Linked DNA regions of Homo sapiens: region 1 is linked to region 2. Evidence: promoter capture Hi-C in human tissues and cell types (Jung and others, 2019). All regions are on one chromosome and are shown on one strand. The core of a region is centred on a gene start or on the middle of the fragment in contact, and the rest is flanking DNA. Distances in the headings are between cores, read along the strand shown. Region 1 overlaps TBCCD1 (TBCC domain containing 1). Region 2 holds the start of DGKG (diacylglycerol kinase gamma).

Region 1 (3,811 bases), core at 225-2,724, 190 kb before region 2:
TCCCCCAGGAAGAAATTATGCATTGGTGATAGGTGTTTGAACTAAAAACGCATTTGACATTGGGACTGGAATAGCCATCATGCTTGTTAATGAACTGGAATTCTAAGGGATTAGAAATTCTGAGGCCAAGCCGGGCGGATCACCTTTATAAGGTTTATATAACTACCTAATTCCTTTTGGGGGATGAGGCAGAGTATAAATACAAAATAATTAAAATATAGAAATTTTAGATCTTGTGGAATCTCTTTATTAAGAGTGCTTTCTTTTAACTTTTTTTTAGAACTGGAATGATTACAGTCACCAAGCTTTTGTCTATGATCATCTGTCTGATCTCCTCGAGCTGCTTTTAGATCCAAAACAACTCACTGCATCATTTCATTCAACCCATAGTAGTCTAGTGTCTCGAGAAGCTGTTGTGGCGCTCAGCTTCCTTATTGAAGGTACAATAAGTAGAGCCAGGAAGATCTATCCACTTCATGAACTTGCACTGTGGCAACCACTGCATGCAGATAGTGGCTTCTCAAAGATCTCTAAGACTTTCTCTTTCTACAAACTGGAAACCTGGTTGAGGTCCTGTTTGACTGGGAATCCATTTGGTACATCAGCTTGCCTCAAGTCTGGAAAGAAATTGGCTTGGGCTCATCAAGGTATTTTTTAATATTTTAATCTACATTAAATTGAATGACAACTTAAGGAACCTAGTGTTTTCTAATATATTAGTGATCTCGTGTCTTCTCTAGAAGACCTAAAAAATACTGCTCCTATAAAAGAGAAAAAGGAACATCTGTCTTTTGTGCATGACTTTTTCTCTCAAGGATTATACTAAAATATTAAAAATGATAGTAGGATTACAAATTATTTTTATCTTCTTTTACTGTTATTTTTCTAAATAACCATATATTATGTACCTGGTACATGTGTAATAAAAGTAAACGTATGTAATAAAAATAAACAAGAAATGTTTTAAAAGAAGAAGAATAATAGCATACTCATGTGACCTCCCAGTATTTCAGCGGTGTTGTTTACAAGGGTGTCCCGGTGGCTTGCAGGGAGGTACAGTCTGAGAAGGCAGTCACGTAACGGTGTGACTGTGTTAGGAGAACCTGCGCGTATTTTTTGAGTGTCAGTTTGTGCAACACACTGTGTGGGATAGGAAGATGTGCTCTCAGGTAGTAATGATCTTAGGAGTAAAGACATGAACTCAGGCTGGGTGCGGTGGCTCACACCTGTAATCCCAGCAATTTGGGAGGCTGAGGTTGGCGGAAGGTGAGGAGTTCGAGACCAGCCTGGCCAACATGGAGAAACCTCAGCTCTACTAAAAATACAAAAATTAGCCAGGCGTGGTGGCATGCACTGGTAATCTCAGCTCCTCAGGACGCTGAGGCAGGAGAATCTCTTGAACCTGGGAGGTGGAGGTTACAGTGAACTGAGATTGCACCACTGCACTCCAGCCTGAGTGACAGAGTGAGACTCCGTCTCACAAAAAAGAAGAAAAAAAGGCATGAACTCAAATAGGATTAATGGGATAATGTGGTAAGTTAGGAAGGGTACAGAATTAATATTATGGTAATTTAGAGAGGTGAATTACGTTTGGGATGATAAAGTAAAGCATCTTGGAGGAGAAGATATTTGAGTTAGGACAGCTTTGCCACTTACTAGCCATATGACCTTAGGCATAGACCTTAACTTGAAGCGTAGACACGAAAAAGTATCTTAGACTTATAGGCAATCTTAAATTCATTATAGGTTTTAAAATTTTTTTTATAACAAAAATGAAAATTCCAAACATACAGAAAGGAATAGAGAATAGTATAGCAAATACCTCTATCCAAAGCCCAGATCTAACGTTTTTGTCCCTACATGTGGTATCTAATTTGAGACATATATACATGTAGACGTGTAACCTCATATGTTTGTTTGTTTTTCTTTGATTTGATACTGCCTCATCTATTTATATGTTTTCTTAAATAGTTGAAGGGACCACCAAAAGAGCTAAGATTGCTTGTAATACTCATGTGGCCCCTAGGATGCACCGACTGGTAGTGATGAGCCAGGTTTACAAGCAGACACTGGCTAAGAGCTCAGACACTCTGGCGGGGGCACATGTAAAGATTCATCGTTGCAACGAATCTTTTATATATCTGCTCTCTCCCTTACGGTAAGCACAGTTTTCATGGTGTTCTGATGTTCTGACATTTTCTTTGGACTGTGACTGATTCTTTTTTTGCCATCAGATAATAATATTTTAGTCAAATTTTTAAAATCTTATTCAGAGGACTTTACCTCATTTTTTCCTTTTTTCAGATCTGTGACAATTGAGAAGTGCAGGAATAGCATCTTTGTCTTGGGCCCTGTAGGGACTACACTTCACCTCCACAGTTGTGACAATGTTAAAGTCATTGCTGTTTGCCATCGTTTGTCCATCTCTTCTACAACAGGTTGCATCTTTCACGTTCTTACGCCTACACGCCCACTTATTCTCTCTGGGAACCAGACAGTAACTTTTGCCCCTTTTCATACACATTACCCAATGCTAGAGGACCATATGGCCAGGACTGGCCTTGCTACAGTGCCTAACTATTGGGATAATCCAATGGTTGTGTGCAGAGAGAACAGCGACACAAGAGTCTTCCAGCTTTTACCACCTTGTGAATTCTATGTATTTATTATTCCCTTTGAAATGGAAGGGGACACAACAGAGATACCCGGGGGTCTTCCATCTGTATATCAGAAAGCACTGGGTCAAAGAGAACAGAAGATACAGATCTGGCAGAAAACTGTGAAGGAGGCTCATTTGACAAAGTGAGTATTTTTTACAAGTAACAGTTTGTGTTTTTTGTGAAACTCCATGGAGAAACAAATTAGTCTGCACATTTTTACAGCTGTGCTAAAGTAATAAAAAATGTAAGGCTGGGCGCGGTGGCTCACGCCTATAATCCCAGCACTTTGGGAGGCCGAGGTGGGTGGATCACCTGAGGTCAGGAGTTTGAGACCAGCCTAGCCAACATGGTGAAACCCCGTCTCTACTAAAAATACAAAAATTAGCTGGGTGTGGTGGCGTGTGCCTGTAATTCCATCTACGTGGGAGGCTGAGGCAGGAGAATTGCTTGAACCCAGGAGGCGGAGGTTGCAGTGAGCCAAGATCGTGCCATTGCACTCCGGCCTGGGCAACAAGAGTGAAACTGTGTCTCAAAAAAAAAAAAAGTAATGTGTTTTTAAATTAAGGTTTGGATTTCAAATTAGTATTTCAAACACTGTTAGGTTGGGGATGGGAGTGGGTAAATATCCAGTATTAGACTCCCTTTTCTTAAGAAGCTAAAGTTTAGTTGGCAAATATAAGACTTACATGAATTTAAAAAATCATACATAGAGTATGCCACATAATCCAATACCATTCTAGGCACCTTCTATGTGCTAACTCATTTATTCTTTGTAATAACACCTTATTACAGGTGAGGAAACCGAAGAACTGAGGAATTAAGTACTTTACCCAAAGTCACACAGGAGCCAGGATTCACACCTAATCAACCTGGTTCCAGAGGTTCTTTTTTTTTCTCTGTTCTGACTTCTCAGTAACCAGAGGTTCTTAAATGCCTCTAATGTCTTCATTGTTTTCTTTCAAATATTGTCATACCATATCATACTGTACAATAATAACATTATAATAATGTGTTGTAAAAATGGATGATCATGAAAAAACATTCTTTTAAAGCAGTTCTGTTGTTTGAATGGTTCTAGTATTTAAATGGTTAGATTCTCTACACTTGATCTCAGCCAAAAGGCCAAGAAACGATGAAGTGCTTAGATTCTC
Region 2 (4,101 bases), core at 481-2,980:
AGTCAAGAATAGACAGCCAGAATGTTTTTCTTGTGACATGTATGTGCATTTTCCTCCATTGAGCATGCAGTCAAAAAAAGCAAGGATTGTGTCTTCCACATCCATGCAACCTAGCAGAGTGAAAATATATACCAGAAACCTGTGCTCAGGGCTCCTCTCTTCCAGGGATGAGGACAGTTCTAAGCCCTTTCTGTCTCTCAGTTCTTCTTTCCTCCCAAGTAAGGCCCAGGACTGGAGTTACGGGGAAGCACCTGAAGACAGAGTAGGAGTTTAATAAATAGCTGTAAAATGAATGAGTCAGTGACTGAAGAGGAAAAAAAGAAAGGACAAGGAAGAACTTTGAAGGCACCCTCACCAAGATTATTTCAGCCTAGCTGAAGGAAACTTTGAGAAGCCACCCAGGGTGATAGAATGGATAAGACCCAGAGGATAAGAGGAGTCGCAAACACGGGGTTCTGGTATCAGCTCTGTCTTCATCACTGTGTGGAATCTTAAGGAGATCTCTCAGCTCTGTTTCTCATCTGTCTCACCAGCCTGCCTGCAGATAGCCTAGTATGGACACCACCCAACAGGGTCCTCAGGGCTGTTTGACATTCGTGTTTGAGGCTTCTTCCCCAAATGCACAGACACCCAGAGCCCCTCGGCGCCTCCACACTCTGCGGAAAGCTTTTCTTGGCTGCAGTGCTGGCCCGGGGACCTTCACTGCCCACTGGCAGAAAAGAATTCTCGGCTGTGGAAATGAGTAAACTCCACATATTTTAAAGATGACAGTCTAAACTCCTAATGACTCTAAATGTGGTGTGAAATGGACAGCAGTCATCTTGCTGTGTGACATGCCTGAAATAGTGTCACCACCACCATCACCCCCTCACGTGGACATGCACGTCATGGAAAGAGAAGCAACAAGTCATAGTGCCTTGGCTAATGTAGCTCCCCTATTCCCCCCGACCCCTCACCCCAGCGTCTTTTCTGTGCTCTTCTACATTTTAAAAAAAGAAGAGATCTATTTATTCTGCAGGAATACAGTCCAAGGTCACCTAAAAGCAAAGGAGAATGGGAATTAAACACACCCAGAGACCCGACCCATCCAACAGAGTCCAGCTCAGGCAGGCTGTGCCAGTCTCCACCAGGCTACGAGGGGAAAACCTTTTCGAGTTGAACTGCCACCAATCCACTGCCACCGAAGTCAAGGTTGTCAGAAATGACCCTCTGGACAGGGCTAGTGATTTGGATCCTAGAGATACTGAGTTCCTGGGAAACAAAGAGAACTTGTTGATTTTGTATTTTTATTTTTTCTTCGATTTGGTCGGGATATTACGGTAGCCTTGACCAGAGTTGAGAAAAGGAAACGCCCAGTCGGTATTTATTTGTCAAACAGTTGTCCTTTGCCTCCGGGGTCAGGGGCCCTCTGGTACCCACCACTGTTGCATCCTCTCCACACTCCTAAGCCTGTAACTCCTCCTCCCAAACCGAAGCCCTGTCAGTAAAAAGCGTCCTAATGATGCCCGCGCCCTAGTTGCACCAAAGGGGGTCAGGTTCCCATCGAGCGGATCCACATTCGTGTGTGCGCACGCGTGTGCATGTGTGGAAGCGCGTGTCTGTGTGTGCCGTGTGTGTACGCGCGCGCGCCGGTGTGTGTGGCGGGGGCGGGCTCTGCGCCCGGGGGCAGGGCTCCGCAGTGAGAGTGGCAGCTGGACTTGCCAGGCTGCGAGGGGCAGGGCACAGAGCCGCAGTGCCGTAGTAGCGGGCCACGGAGATAGACAGCTTTGGAGCTGCTGAACTCCGAGCACAGGGTGAAGACCCCGGCGCTACCAACCACAGCCTGGCAGCCTGGTCTCCGCGGCACCCACTGGGGCTGCATCCCCCTCCCCCGAGAGGGCTGCGCAGGCGGGAAGACGCCCAGAGGCCAGCTTCGGTCCCCCTTCTGTCTCTCGGTTCCTCTTTCCTCCCAAGTAAGGGAATAAACCGCGAAGAAGGAGCGCCCCGGGCCACCGCGCAACCAAGTGTTGCCTGGTGAGGTAAGACGGCGGCCGGCGCGGCGGAGGGGGTCCCCGGCTCAGGGAGCACCCGGTGCAGCAACTTGGTAAAGGAGGGCAAAGCGGGAGCCGGTCCCGCGGCCAGGGAAGGGGCTGCAGCCAAAGCCACGGCGCCCACCCCGACAGTTCCACCTGCCACAAAGCCCTGCAGGAAGGGATGCCCCGCTCGAGGGGTGCAGGCTTGGGGAACGCACAGGGTGGGGCTCGGCTCTCTCTGCGACTGAGAGGCCCCCTCAAGCCTCAAAGCTGTGCGGGTGGGAGGCGGCCTTGCTCCAGGCAGTTTGCTAAAGCAACTGGTCGGATTTCCTTCTTCTTCTGGACTTAACCTTGGCTCCTTGATATCCAGTTCGCGCTCCAGGCAGTCCGAGAAGCAGGAGATGCTTTTCCTAATGTCTGGCCGCCAAAGCCTCCGACCGTCCCGCGGGGTTCTAGGACTTTGGGGGCACTCCACAAAGCCCCTGCGCAGGGCGACTTAAAGGGAAGCTGAAGCGAACACGGACACCTCAGAGAATAAAGGAGGGAAGGGTCGAATCTGAGGTTGATCTGTGTAGTCTCAGAGTCACAAGATGTGTCCGTGTGTGTGCTTGTGTCCTGAGGAGTGCGTACCCGGAGTCACCTGTGGTGCTTTCGCAGACTCCACCGGTCCACCTCCCCTTGCCTAGTCTGAGATTTTCTTCGTTTGAACTAGTGGAATAGAATTAGGGGAGGGGGCTGTGGAGTTCTAAAAAGCCCTACAGGTGATTTGACGTGCTGCCCCCATCCCCACCATCACTGCAGTGGAAAGCTTGGGACTAGAGCTAGAACCACCTCCCAGATGGGAGGGATGAGCTGCGGAACTCAGGGTGGCGGTCGAGACCCCTCCCCCAGTCGCCCCCCGCGGCGGGAGCGTCTGCTGCAGCGCGAAGCGATCTGTGGCTGCGCCGCAGTGGTGCCCGGGAGCGCTGTGAACCCGTGGGCGCGCTCTCCCGCGCTGCGCCGCTGCCTCCTCGGACTTCATTAGCATACGATGACCTCTCTGTGGGGAGGAGGGCCTGGGAGGGCTGTTTGTCATTCCTTTATTTTGGGGGCTTGGCGACGACACTTTGGATCTGGAGGTGAACACCAGGGGTCATGATGAGAGACAGTGGTCAGGACACAGGACTGGAAACGACCCCTCTGGTCTGGATGGGGGAATCAACTTTGTTATTTTGGTGCTTGGGATTCTCTGTCTGTAAAATACAGCTGGCAGAGCCACTTGCTGGCACACAGGGCACCCTGGTTGTCAATGAAGGAAATTAGATCATAGAGGGCAAATGTCGAGGTTTGGTCATGAACCCAGGCACAGACACACACCCCTTTATATTTTATGTCCCTCTCACTCTCATTCCAGGCATGTGTCTAACATGGGAAGGTACTTAACTGTTTGTCATATTAAAAGACTACATTTGCTGGAGATTCCATTCCGAATATGAATTATACTCCTTAAATAAAACGGCTGCAACTAAGCCAACTTCCCGGTCGTACTCCTGATCTATGTCTTTTTTGCCAATCACCCTTAACGTTTACACCCAGCACTATAGGCATTACTACAGGTATTTTTCTGGGAGGGGCTTTAGGGTGGGAAGCTAGTAGATGAGTCTTTCCTACCTTAGAATTTTATGGAGTGGTTGGTTCAGATCAACCGAGACATGGGGAGAAAACGACAAACATCAGCGTGTCTTGAAATCTAGACTCTCAGAGATGGGAGTAACTACTAAGATCATCTGTTCCAGCTCCCCCAACTGCTCCAACTCCCCACACAACACCATCAACAGATGGTGAGGATCCCTCCAACCCGGACACTCCCAGAGGCCCAGGCTGTGCATGTGTGAGCCTCTGCGAGGAAAGAACCCAGAAGCCAGCAACTCTCCCCTCTCCTACTGATGGGAGTTGGTGGATGCTGGCCCCATCTCCTCCCCTGGAAGAGAAGGGGGAAAAGGGCGGGGAAGTACCTTTTCTTTGTGGTAAAACTTTAAAACTTTTAAAATGTATATCTTATTGTATTACATCATTATAATGTACTCTTTTAGTATAAAAGTAATTCATG

The links. Contacts are between HindIII fragments. The study calls those that stand out against the background at their distance.
Region 1: a contact is called between a fragment that was not itself captured here and the fragment with the promoter of DGKG in region 2, in 1 of the 25 tissues and cell types used here (thymus).

Annotation. Positions count from the first base shown.
Region 1 is chr3:186,553,245-186,557,055 of GRCh38, reverse strand. TBCCD1 (TBCC domain containing 1) reads left to right here. Exons shown (of 8, transcript NM_018138.5): 4 at 281-647; 5 at 1,972-2,158; 6 at 2,305-2,802. Among named protein-coding and RNA genes, the nearest start is that of CRYGS, 11 kb to the right of the region's middle. RefSeq lists an enhancer at 3,646-3,811. The HindIII fragment of the contact is 6,724 bases long and covers 1-3,811 here.
Region 2 is chr3:186,359,863-186,363,963 of GRCh38, reverse strand. It overlaps DGKG (diacylglycerol kinase gamma), which reads left to right and starts at 1,730. Exons shown (of 25, transcript NM_001346.3): 1 at 1,730-2,018. RefSeq lists a silencer at 1,571-1,660 and an enhancer at 2,445-2,962. The HindIII fragment of the contact is 4,334 bases long and covers 1-3,988 here.